Linked DNA regions of Homo sapiens: region 2 is linked to region 1. Evidence: promoter capture Hi-C in 16 types of primary human blood cells and fetal thymus (Javierre and others, 2016). All regions are on one chromosome and are shown on one strand. The core of a region is centred on a gene start or on the middle of the fragment in contact, and the rest is flanking DNA. Distances in the headings are between cores, read along the strand shown. Region 1 holds the start of UBASH3B (ubiquitin associated and SH3 domain containing B). Region 2 overlaps GRAMD1B (GRAM domain containing 1B).

Region 1 (4,770 bases), core at 824-3,323:
TGGTATCAGGAACTGGAGCCCTAGTATTAGGAAGTCGTATTGGGACGTCAGTGGAAGGCAGAAACCATCAGTCCATTTTGCAGCCTTCTAAGGCCACTCCAACGTGTCCCAGCAGCCTGGAGAATAACAAATTCAAGGGTCTACTTTGATTAACAGATTACAACCAAGTTAGTAGAGAATAAACAAGGTTTGCCCAGAGATAAGGGAGGGGAGACATAAAGTTATTGCCTGTAATCCCAGCACTTTGGGAGACCGAGGTGGGTGGATCACCTGAGGTCAGGAGTTCGAGACCAGCCTGGCCAACATGGCAGAACCCCATCTCTTCTAAAAATATAAAAATTAGCCCGGTGTGGTGGCGCATGTCTATGGTCCCAGCTACTCAGGAGGCTAAGGTGGGAGAATCGCTTGAACCTGGGAGGCGGAAGTTACAGAGATTGCGCCACTGCACTCTAGCCTGGCGACACAGCGAGACTCCGTCTCAGAAAAATAAATACATAAATAAAGTTATCACCTGAAAAAAAAATGTGAGAAGGGAAAAAAATAAAAAGGACTTTCATTTACTTGGCCCTCACTGATTAAGTTTGGCCAACTCTCCTGTTCAGGTGCTGTAATTCAAAGATGAAAAGAAGCTGCGCCCAGTCCGGACGCCAGGCCTTGTGTCCCCACCTAAGAAATCTGCACGGCAGGGATTAACCAGGGGAGAAGGGCCTGGCCGCTGGGCCTTGGCTTCCTCTTAGGCAGAGTTCCAGCCCCTGAGACTTGAGCCGACCGGCCTGAGACGACTCCGGCCGCCGCCACCCTATGCTGGCAAACAGGCCTCTCCCCAGCAGGCTCCAGGGGCAGCCACCTGCGCTCTCCCTGCCCTCCCCTACCCCACTCTCCTAGAGGAAGGATGAAGAACAGCTCCCCCTCCTTACTCTCAGGCACCCACAGATTTCTGAGCTGCCGTCACCACTGACGAGAACCCAGGTCCCCTGGAGGGATCGCTTCTCCTTCTGATTCCATCCTCCCCATCAATGAACACGCAGGAACACCCACGCTCCCGCTCCTCCTACTCCAGGGGGAGACCGAACCCGAGAGCGACATCCGGAGCTGGAAGCCGCTGCAACGGGGGCGCCGGCCTCCCTGCCCCGCAGTCTCCCGCCCTTTCCCAGACACCGGAGGATCCCAGACCAGCCCAGTATTCCAGACGGAGAGGGTGCCCGAGTCCTCCGCAGGGCCCCGCCTCCCTAGGCGCTCGGCGCTGGAGACCTAGGGGAGCGCGCGAGAGAAACGCTGAGCTCCACCCGGCTGGGGCGGAGGCTGAGCACTATACCCGGGACTCGAACCCCGCGCCCTCGTCCCCCAGCTTTAGGCATCCCACGGCGAGCCCTGGCCCAACGCCCCCGCGCCGCGTCTTCCCCCGCACCCCCGCCCGGAGCCGAGTCCCGGGTTGCCAGCGCGCCCATCCCGCCCCCAACAGGTCTCGGGCAGCGGGGAGCGCGCTGCCTGTCCCGCAGGCGCTGGGAGGCGAGCCGGAGCGAAGCCGAGGGCCGGCCGCGCGCGCGGGAGGGGTCGCCGAGGGCTGCGAGCCCGGCCACTTACGCGCGGGCTCTGGGGAACCCCATGGAGAGGAGCACGTCCAGCGCCGATCCATGCTTGATGGTGCCGGGGCGCTGTTGGCGGTTCCTCCGGGGGGTGACTTTGCTGTACAGCTCCTCTCTCGCAGCCATGCCGAGCGGACTGGGGTGGCCGTACTGAGCCATGGCTCAGCGGCCAGCCATCGCCAGGGAAGGAGCCCGAGCCGGATGGTTCGGGAAGGAGGAGGGAGTCGGGCTGGGCCAGGGGAGGGGGCTCGGGGACCCAGAGCCAGGCAGGAGGCGGCGGCAGCGGAGGCGGCGCTCCGAGCTTCCCCAGTGTCGGGACTCTGACGCTTCCTGGTGAGGCCACAGGAGCCAGAACGCCGGCAAGCGGCCGCTGCGGGACCAGCCTCAGCCACTCGGGCCCCCGGCTGCCCCCAGCTCTGCGCCTGCAGTAGCCCTGTCTCCTCCGCCCCCTTCCCTCTCCTCGCCTAGCAGTCCGGGAATTTGCAATGAGTAATTTTTGAATGGATCAAAAAGGAAAAGGAGCCTTGTGGGCTGGCCCTGACTTGCCTGTACCCGGGCCCCGCCCCTCTCTTAAAGCGGCCGCGCTGTCCGAGGCTGCTCCGTGCGGGCAAGAGCTGTAGTCGCGCTACTTGGAGACGGAGGATCCCAACCTTATGGGCTGCTTGTGTGCTTCACCTCCCGAGAGTCACCCCCGGCGCCCCAGCCCTCTCCTTGGCTGGCATACCCGCCCAGCTGGGCCTCAAGACAGGAGATCAACCCATCTCAAGTTTCATGTGATTCTAGATGCGGTTATTAATGGAAATTGGGTGAACTGGTGGATGATACTAATGGACCAGAAGGCCAAGCCGTAAGGCCTAGGTAAAAGGTTTTGCTTCTCAAAGATCCTGCAAAACCCAAAGGGTTGTTAGGACCATCGGAAGTTGAGTTCCCAATCAGCCGGCCAAGTGGCTGCACTAAAGACCTACTGCGCTCTACAAGGTTATGGTCAGTGACTGAATAGTGCCTTCCCGGTGGGGCAGAGGGGTTGGGGAGAAGGACCTCAGGTTCTCAGAGGTGGCAGGACCTGGGAGGGGACAAGAAAAGAGGGACAGGGCAGAAAGAAGAGGGAAGGGAAAAAGAAAGGAGGAAGGAGGAGGAGAAGAAGGAAGGGCTAGGAGGGTAGAGGAAGAAGGAACAGAGAAAACATACTTCCTAATTATAAGAGGTGTTCAAAAGGGAACGGGCTTATTTCATTAGGGAGTGGATATCCTGTCAATAAAAGGATTCAAAGACGGACCGAATCACCACTGCACAATAATAAGTGAATTGTATCATAGGCTGGACAAAACTACTCCCACTGCAAAGATGGTGGAAGCCACAACCATATTGATGCCCCATGCCCCACCTGGTGAATTTGGCTGGGGGATGCTAACCCTCTTTCGTTTGGAAACAAAGTCATTGTCTTCAGTCAGGGACAAGGGTCCCACTTGCTATAATGAAAGAGGCAATGAGTACACCCTAACTGATAGTCTTTTTTGGGTAATAATAATAATAAAACCTAACATTTATTGGGCTCTTGTATGTGCCAGTCATTGTGCTAATCGTAATGAATGAACTCACTGAAGTTTTATACTGACCCTAGGAGTGTGTTTAATCATTATCCCAGTTTTACAGATGAGAAAACTCAGCTCAGAGAGGTTGGGGAAGATCATAGAGCTGGTAAGTGCGTAGCTACAGCACTCGTATCCACTGCGGTGCCTTAGACAAGTTACTTCTCTCTACAGCCTAATTTCCTCATTGGTATGGACCGTGGTAACCTAACCTTGCACACACTGGGTTTTCCAGAAATGTCAGTCCGGGCCTGTCCCTGGTTGGAATATGGGGGAGGGATGGTGACCAGCACCCATGGAGTGGCTTTTTGAGGTTGCTTTATAAGGCCTGTGAAGGTTTTACCAGGGGAAATGATACAGTGTAACTCCCTGAGCCCGGAATTGGTTTCCTAAAGAATAGCCAGTGGTGTTTGGAAGCAGGGAGATAAGACAGCTGGAGCTTAAGCAACAATGTGTATTAATTCTGCCTCCTGCTGTACAAAGGATGAGGGAAAATTAATGCTTCCTGGGTAGTAGCTGCTTCCAGAGCAAAGGGGATATCCTGGAGACCTTGCAGAATGCTCTTCCAGGACATGGAGCAAAAAGACAAGACTGGGCTGGCAACACCATACCTAGTATTAGCCTCCTTGGATGTGTTCGGTAAAACATGCTGGATTTTATCCAGTATTCTGAATTGTTTCCAAATGCCTGGGCTGAAAGTCAAATGATCTGGATCTTAGTCAAGAGATAATAATGTATGTGAAAGCGCTTTGTAAACCATAAAGCGCTACATAAATGATAACTCAAATTTATTGAGTACTTACTATATGCTGGTGTTGTTCTTTGCTTCTTACATATGTGACTCAAACAATTCCTTGACAAGACTATGAACTAGGAACTACTTTACAAATGAAGGTGCTGAGCCAGAGGTCAAGTATCTTGTCCAAGGTCACATGGCTAGTAAATGGCAGAGCCAAGATTTGAACTCTTAACATTTGGCCAAACAACTAGTTAACGACCATTGTTATGATGATAAAAGGACACCAGCCTTTAAGATAGTTTTTTGACTCCATCTATGCCCCTTGACATAGAATTGCTGGATCTCTGTTTCTCCAGAAAAATTGAATTAATTGTCTTTCTCCCTGCCTTTAGGCAAACTGTAAGATAAAGGAAATGATGCATATAAAAATAGTTTTAGGTAGACTGGAAAAAGCACTATGAAAAACTAGGCACCTGAGATGCAAACTGTTTTTGTCTGGGACACTTTTACAGAAATCCCAGCTTGGCTTCCTCACTTGTCTTCAGCTCAGTGCAAACCCCTGTTTTATTTAGGACTCCTGCCATTTGTTCTGCACTGGGTTGGGGGGCTGGCAATTCAGATGCATTGTGCTTTAATTGTGTTGACGTTGAAAAGCTAGGAAAAGCTTCATAAATGTCTACACTGTTCTATTACAAAGAGAGAAGAGGGGGGCTGGGTGCGGTGGCTCACCCCTGTAATCCCAGCACTTTGGGAGGCTGAGGTGGGCGAATCACAAGGTCAAGAGATCGAGACCATCCTGGCCAACAAGGTGAAACCCAATCTCTACTAAAAATACAAAAATTAGCTGGGCATGGTG
Region 2 (4,904 bases), core at 726-3,225, 920 kb before region 1:
TCACTGGATAATGACTGTCTCTGAGCCATCAGGGCTGTTCATCACGTGAGGACCCTCGCAGATGTTCTCCGGCTCACCACCCCAATATCGCTCCCCGCAGCCCCTGACAAGGAGGTACCGCCTCAACGGGGTCCCGCTCACCTTGGAATTCTTGCCGCCGCTCCGGCCGGACTGGGAGGAGCAGCTGCGCTGCACGCCCTGCTCCGGTGTGGACGGGGACTTGTCCGAGGAGTGATCTGAGCCCTTCTCCACCATGGTGTCTCCGTCCTGGTTCTGCGGGGTTGGCGAGCGAGACCGCTTCCGGAGGATGGGCGAGCAGGCCGGCGTGCTGCGGTTGGAGTTACTGGCAGTGCTGCAGCGGCAGATGGAGAGAGGGAGCGGGGTGGAAAGAGAAGGAGGAGGAAAGGCAGGCAGTCAGTGATCGAGGCCAAGGACAAGCCCAAAGGAGCCAGCTCAGGGAGCCAGGTGAGGGGCTGGGGAGAAACCGGGAGAGAGGGGCCCAGGCTGCGGCTTGCCGCACCGTAATACTGCCGTTGGCCACGGGAGGGCAGCAGTGCCCATGTGGACACAGACGCACGAGCCAACGGGCAATCGACATCTAGACATGCATCCGTCCATCCGTCCGTCCAACCTGTTATTGTTTGAGCCCCTATTATATGCCAAAAATTGTCTGGGGCATATAGAATTTAATACCTGAAAGGCTCACTGGAGACCATCCAATACAATCAGCTCATTTTATACATACTGCAAATGCAAAGCTTCTATATTTTGTTCAGATATTTTTGTTCATGAAAATAACAATTACAATCCTATTTTTCACAGCCTTCACATACGCATTATTTCTTAAAACATTCCACCAAGGGAGTAATGGCAAGTACCATAATCCCTATGTTAAAAAATGAAGACCAGTGCCTGACAGAGGGAAGCTAAATGCCCACTGTTGAGAGAAACAAAGTGCAGCTCTTCTGATTTGTAACTCACCCACACCATATTATTTCCTTGTAAGGAAGCCATGTGGGTTCCTGCTTCCTCTGCCCAGGGTAAAGATGCACACAGCCGAAGTTCTCACATTCCATATTCCCTTACCCCAACATTTATTCCCAATAAGTACCTTGTACTTCCCACAGGACCAAATCCACTTACATCAAGGCTTATAAGCTGCAAATAAAATATTGACTATTTGATATTTCACTTCCGTTTTCAATGGACTAGAAGAAGAGATGAGAGACAGAAGGGAGAGAGAAACTGAATGCAGTTGAATGTTTGCTTTGCTTCCGAGAGTGGAGAAAGGAAAGAGATGGAGAAAGGGAGAGGCTAAGTAGAAAGTGCCAGCAGAAATGGGAAGGAAAGGAAATGTGAGATTGGAAAGCCTGCACGGGGCTGCTGGGGTGTCCTGCCCACCTGCTCAGCAGCCTCTCAGCTGGGTCAGGCTTCAGGAACACCCTGGACCCCCCTGCAGGCTGCATCCCAGCCTTCCCTCGGGGAGTGGGGTGCAGGGCTGGGGACACTGTCATTTGCATGAAGATGCAGCTGTGACCTCAGATGTCCCATTGGCCCCATTTGCAATGAAAACCATGCCCCTTTCAGCAAAACCTTCCACCTGGACATCCTTAGCAGAGAGAAAGGCAACAAATCCCAAGAGCCTAAACCAGCGAGTGTGGGCAGGAGGGGAGCTGGGGGCAGGCAGTGCGGTAACTTTTGGAAGGAAACTGATAAAGAAAAAAAAAGGAGACCAGAGAAAAGGAAGATAAATGTGCCCCAAATATGTATGGAGAAAAGCAAGGCCCAATGTTCCACTTCATCCTAAAACAGAATTTGCATTTAAAATCTCATTTCTAATACTAACAATAATTGTTATTGGGGGAGGCCCAAGATGCCTCTTTCAAAAGAGGCTCTTCCCGTTTTTGCCCCACCCATTCCTTATCCTTACTCTCTAAACTCGTTTGCTACCATAAACTCTGGAGAAAGGAAGGTACCTTCCTTTACTTTGGTTAGAGATGCCAGGCCGTGGGGCTGGTGGCAGGCAGATCCATGAGTGCACAACCCCTGGGGAAGCGTGGAGAGCAGGTGCCAACACACGTCTTTCTGGGGTGAGCCTCCTTGCTCTAGGGCCAACTCAAGCCCGTAACCACATATTCCAAGGTTTAAACTGTCTTCTAGGATTATGTTACTAGAACAACGAGGACCTCTACCCTCTAGTCCCAACTATAATAGTTTGCTCAAAAAATAACTAGAGAAGTTGGGAGTGGTGGCATGAGCTGTAATCCCAGCTACTTGGGAGACTGAGGCAGGAGGATCATTTGAGACCACGAGTTTGAGACCAGCCCGGGCAACATGATGAGATCCTGTCTCAAAAAGAACTAGAAAAAGGATGACAATCAAGTACATGCCTATCTCAGACACAATGGCCCCCCAGCCGTTGTGTAATTTCCTCACAAATTCCAGACCCTGGAATGGAAAGGAGATTCCTTCATCCTTCCCCAAACCCAGAATCCCTGCTAACTGGCTTCAAGCAAGAGGTTGGCAACACACTCTAACCAGAGGAGAACTGACTCCAACTATCCAAAACCACACGAATCTCACATGAAATGATCAAAGCATGAGAACTCCTCACCGCCCAGCAGTCCCACTTTAGCCCACTCTACACACACCATGCAAAGATCTACACACCTAAAATGCTGCCTTCAACACATCAGCCAATAAACAACTTATACCATCTCTCTGTGCTCTTAAGGCTGTTGATCATCTGTGCTGTTCTTGGAAACTTCTCCCTGATGACAAGCACCTCTCTTCTACTCCTCTGCCGGTCTCAACTACTGTCTCAACTCTTGCTACCCAGCCTGCAATTAATCCTTCCCTAAAGGTGAGTCTGTCACCTCCCTGGCCGTCTCCAGCTTTCTCTAACTTCAACCAGGCAGAGACTCCTCTACCTGCTTCCGGCCCTGGTCACAGTCGCTAGCCTGACCCAACAACCTGCTGCCAGGTGGATGCTTCCTCCAGACAATGTCTCATGAGTGCCCCACACTGAACACAGAGCTGGACATCTTTCCTCCCAGACCTCCTCCCACGACTGCCCATTCTCAATGGCAGTTTCATTACCAGGTTTCTCAGGCTGCAGACCCCTCTCTTCCATCTCACTCCACTAAAAAATGAGTCACTGAATTCCACCAATTCTATTTCTACAAAGCTTTTTACCTCATCCTTCCCTTCCTTCCCCAGGGCCCCAGTTCAGGTTCAAGGAATTCTGCTCACCCTCTTCCAATAAATAGCCAGTTGAGTGGTCTTCTCTGCCTCCTTTTCCTCTTCCTACTCACTCACAGCTGTGTCATTAATCTTTCTAAATACAAGCCCAACATCTTACTGTGTTCTAGTAGCTCCCACATTAAAGTCCCAAATCCTCAAAATGGAATCTAAAGTTCTCTGCTAAAAGTAAATGACACCTCTATGCTTTTTCTCTCCTTATATGCTCTTAAAGGGCTTGCATATTCCACACCTATACACTTTCCCCCAATTCCCTTAATATACATGCTCTTTCTCCTGCCTCCAAACTCCCATACGACGCACTACTTGAGCCTAAAGAGCCCTTGCCCTCTGCATCTCCCTGCTGGAGTCCTGCTCTTTCTTCTTTTTTTTTTTTTTTTTAATTCTGTTCATTCTTCAAGACCCATTTCAAATCCCACTTGCTCCAAAAAGCTTTTCTAAATCTCCACCTTGGAGCTGACTAAAGCACTGAAAGCACATAGCCTGGTATGAAGGACCTACAAACTCCTGGAGGCTCAGCCCTCTGCACGCCCCACACGACCCAGCAGGGCTCTGTAAGTGGCATGTTTTCCGCTGAACTGAATCCCATCCTAGTGACAGTCTTCATACCCTTGGCTTTACCAATTCCGAATATCAAGATGGCTCCCAAATCTGTACCTACAACCTGCTAATATTCATAAAAATAACTAAACATTATTGAGTGTTCATGAGCTCCTGGTGCAGCACCGAGTACTTATTAAATATTATTTCGTTTAATCCCCCCAACAAACCCATGAAGTTGCAAAGAACAGTATTATTAGTCCCATTTTTCAGGTGATATATTTGGATTCTTGACAGATTAAATAATTCACCCAAAGTCACACAGATGGATGGGAGGCAGGGCAAGATTTCAAACTTTCAAACACAGGCCTATCTGATTGTCAAGCTCATTTTCGGAAGCAGGCATTCAATTGTGTTTGTTTGCCCGGTGGACAGAAAGAGGCACAGATGGAAAGACAGTGGGTAGCTGGGTGAGTACAAAGAAAGAAGGAATCAACTTCCTGCCTCCAGGCTTCAATCCATTCTCTCTTTTCCTGTCAAAGTGAACTTTCTAAAAAGAGGATTTGGCATTTTTTTCATCCTTTTTGATGATTAAAGACCCCTATAATTTCCCACCCTCTGTGGAATAAAACCTGAACTCTAGACTATATGTTCCTCAATTATCTCACTCAGCCTACCTCTGAAAACCCCAACACTGGCTACATTTCCAGTGCACCTCTGCCTCAGCCATCGGGGTCTAACTGAGCTCCTGCCCCAGCCATCAGGGCCTACCTGCGCCCCTGCCCCAGCCATCGGGCCCTACCTGCGCCCCTGCCCCAGCCATCGGGGCCTACCTGCGCCCCTGCCCCAGCCATCGGGGCCTACCTGCGCCTCTGCCCCAGCCATCGGGGCCTACCTGGGCCTCTGCCCCAGCCATCGGGGCCTATCTGCGCCTCTGCCTCAGCTATCGGGGTCTACCTGCGCCCCTGCCCCAGCCATCGGGGCCTCTTTGTGCCTCTGCCTCAGCCATCGGGGTCTACCTGCGCCCCTGTCCCAGCCATCGGGGCCTACCTGTGCCCCTGCCCCAGCCATCGGGGCCTACCTGCGCCCCTGCCCCAGCCATC

Evidence for each region. Contacts are between HindIII fragments. The CHiCAGO score rates a contact against its expected background, and 5 or more counts as called.
Region 2: a contact is called between a fragment that was not itself captured here and the fragment with the promoter of UBASH3B in region 1, in 1 of 17 cell types (neutrophils). The highest score is 5.1, in neutrophils.

What each region holds. Positions count from the first base shown.
Region 1 is chr11:122,653,025-122,657,794 of GRCh38, reverse strand. UBASH3B (ubiquitin associated and SH3 domain containing B) reads right to left here and starts at 2,073. Exons shown (of 14, transcript NM_032873.5): 1 at 1,585-2,073. The coding sequence starts at 1,745. RefSeq lists a silencer at 1,414-1,463 and an enhancer at 1,667-2,168. The HindIII fragment of the contact is 6,403 bases long and covers 1-4,580 here.
Region 2 is chr11:123,572,815-123,577,718 of GRCh38, reverse strand. It overlaps GRAMD1B (GRAM domain containing 1B), which reads right to left. Exons shown (of 20, transcript NM_001387025.1): 3 at 142-352. Among named protein-coding and RNA genes, the nearest start is that of SCN3B, 79 kb to the left of the region's middle. RefSeq lists enhancers at 1-340, 939-1,438, 1,439-1,940. The HindIII fragment of the contact is 2,429 bases long and covers 761-3,189 here.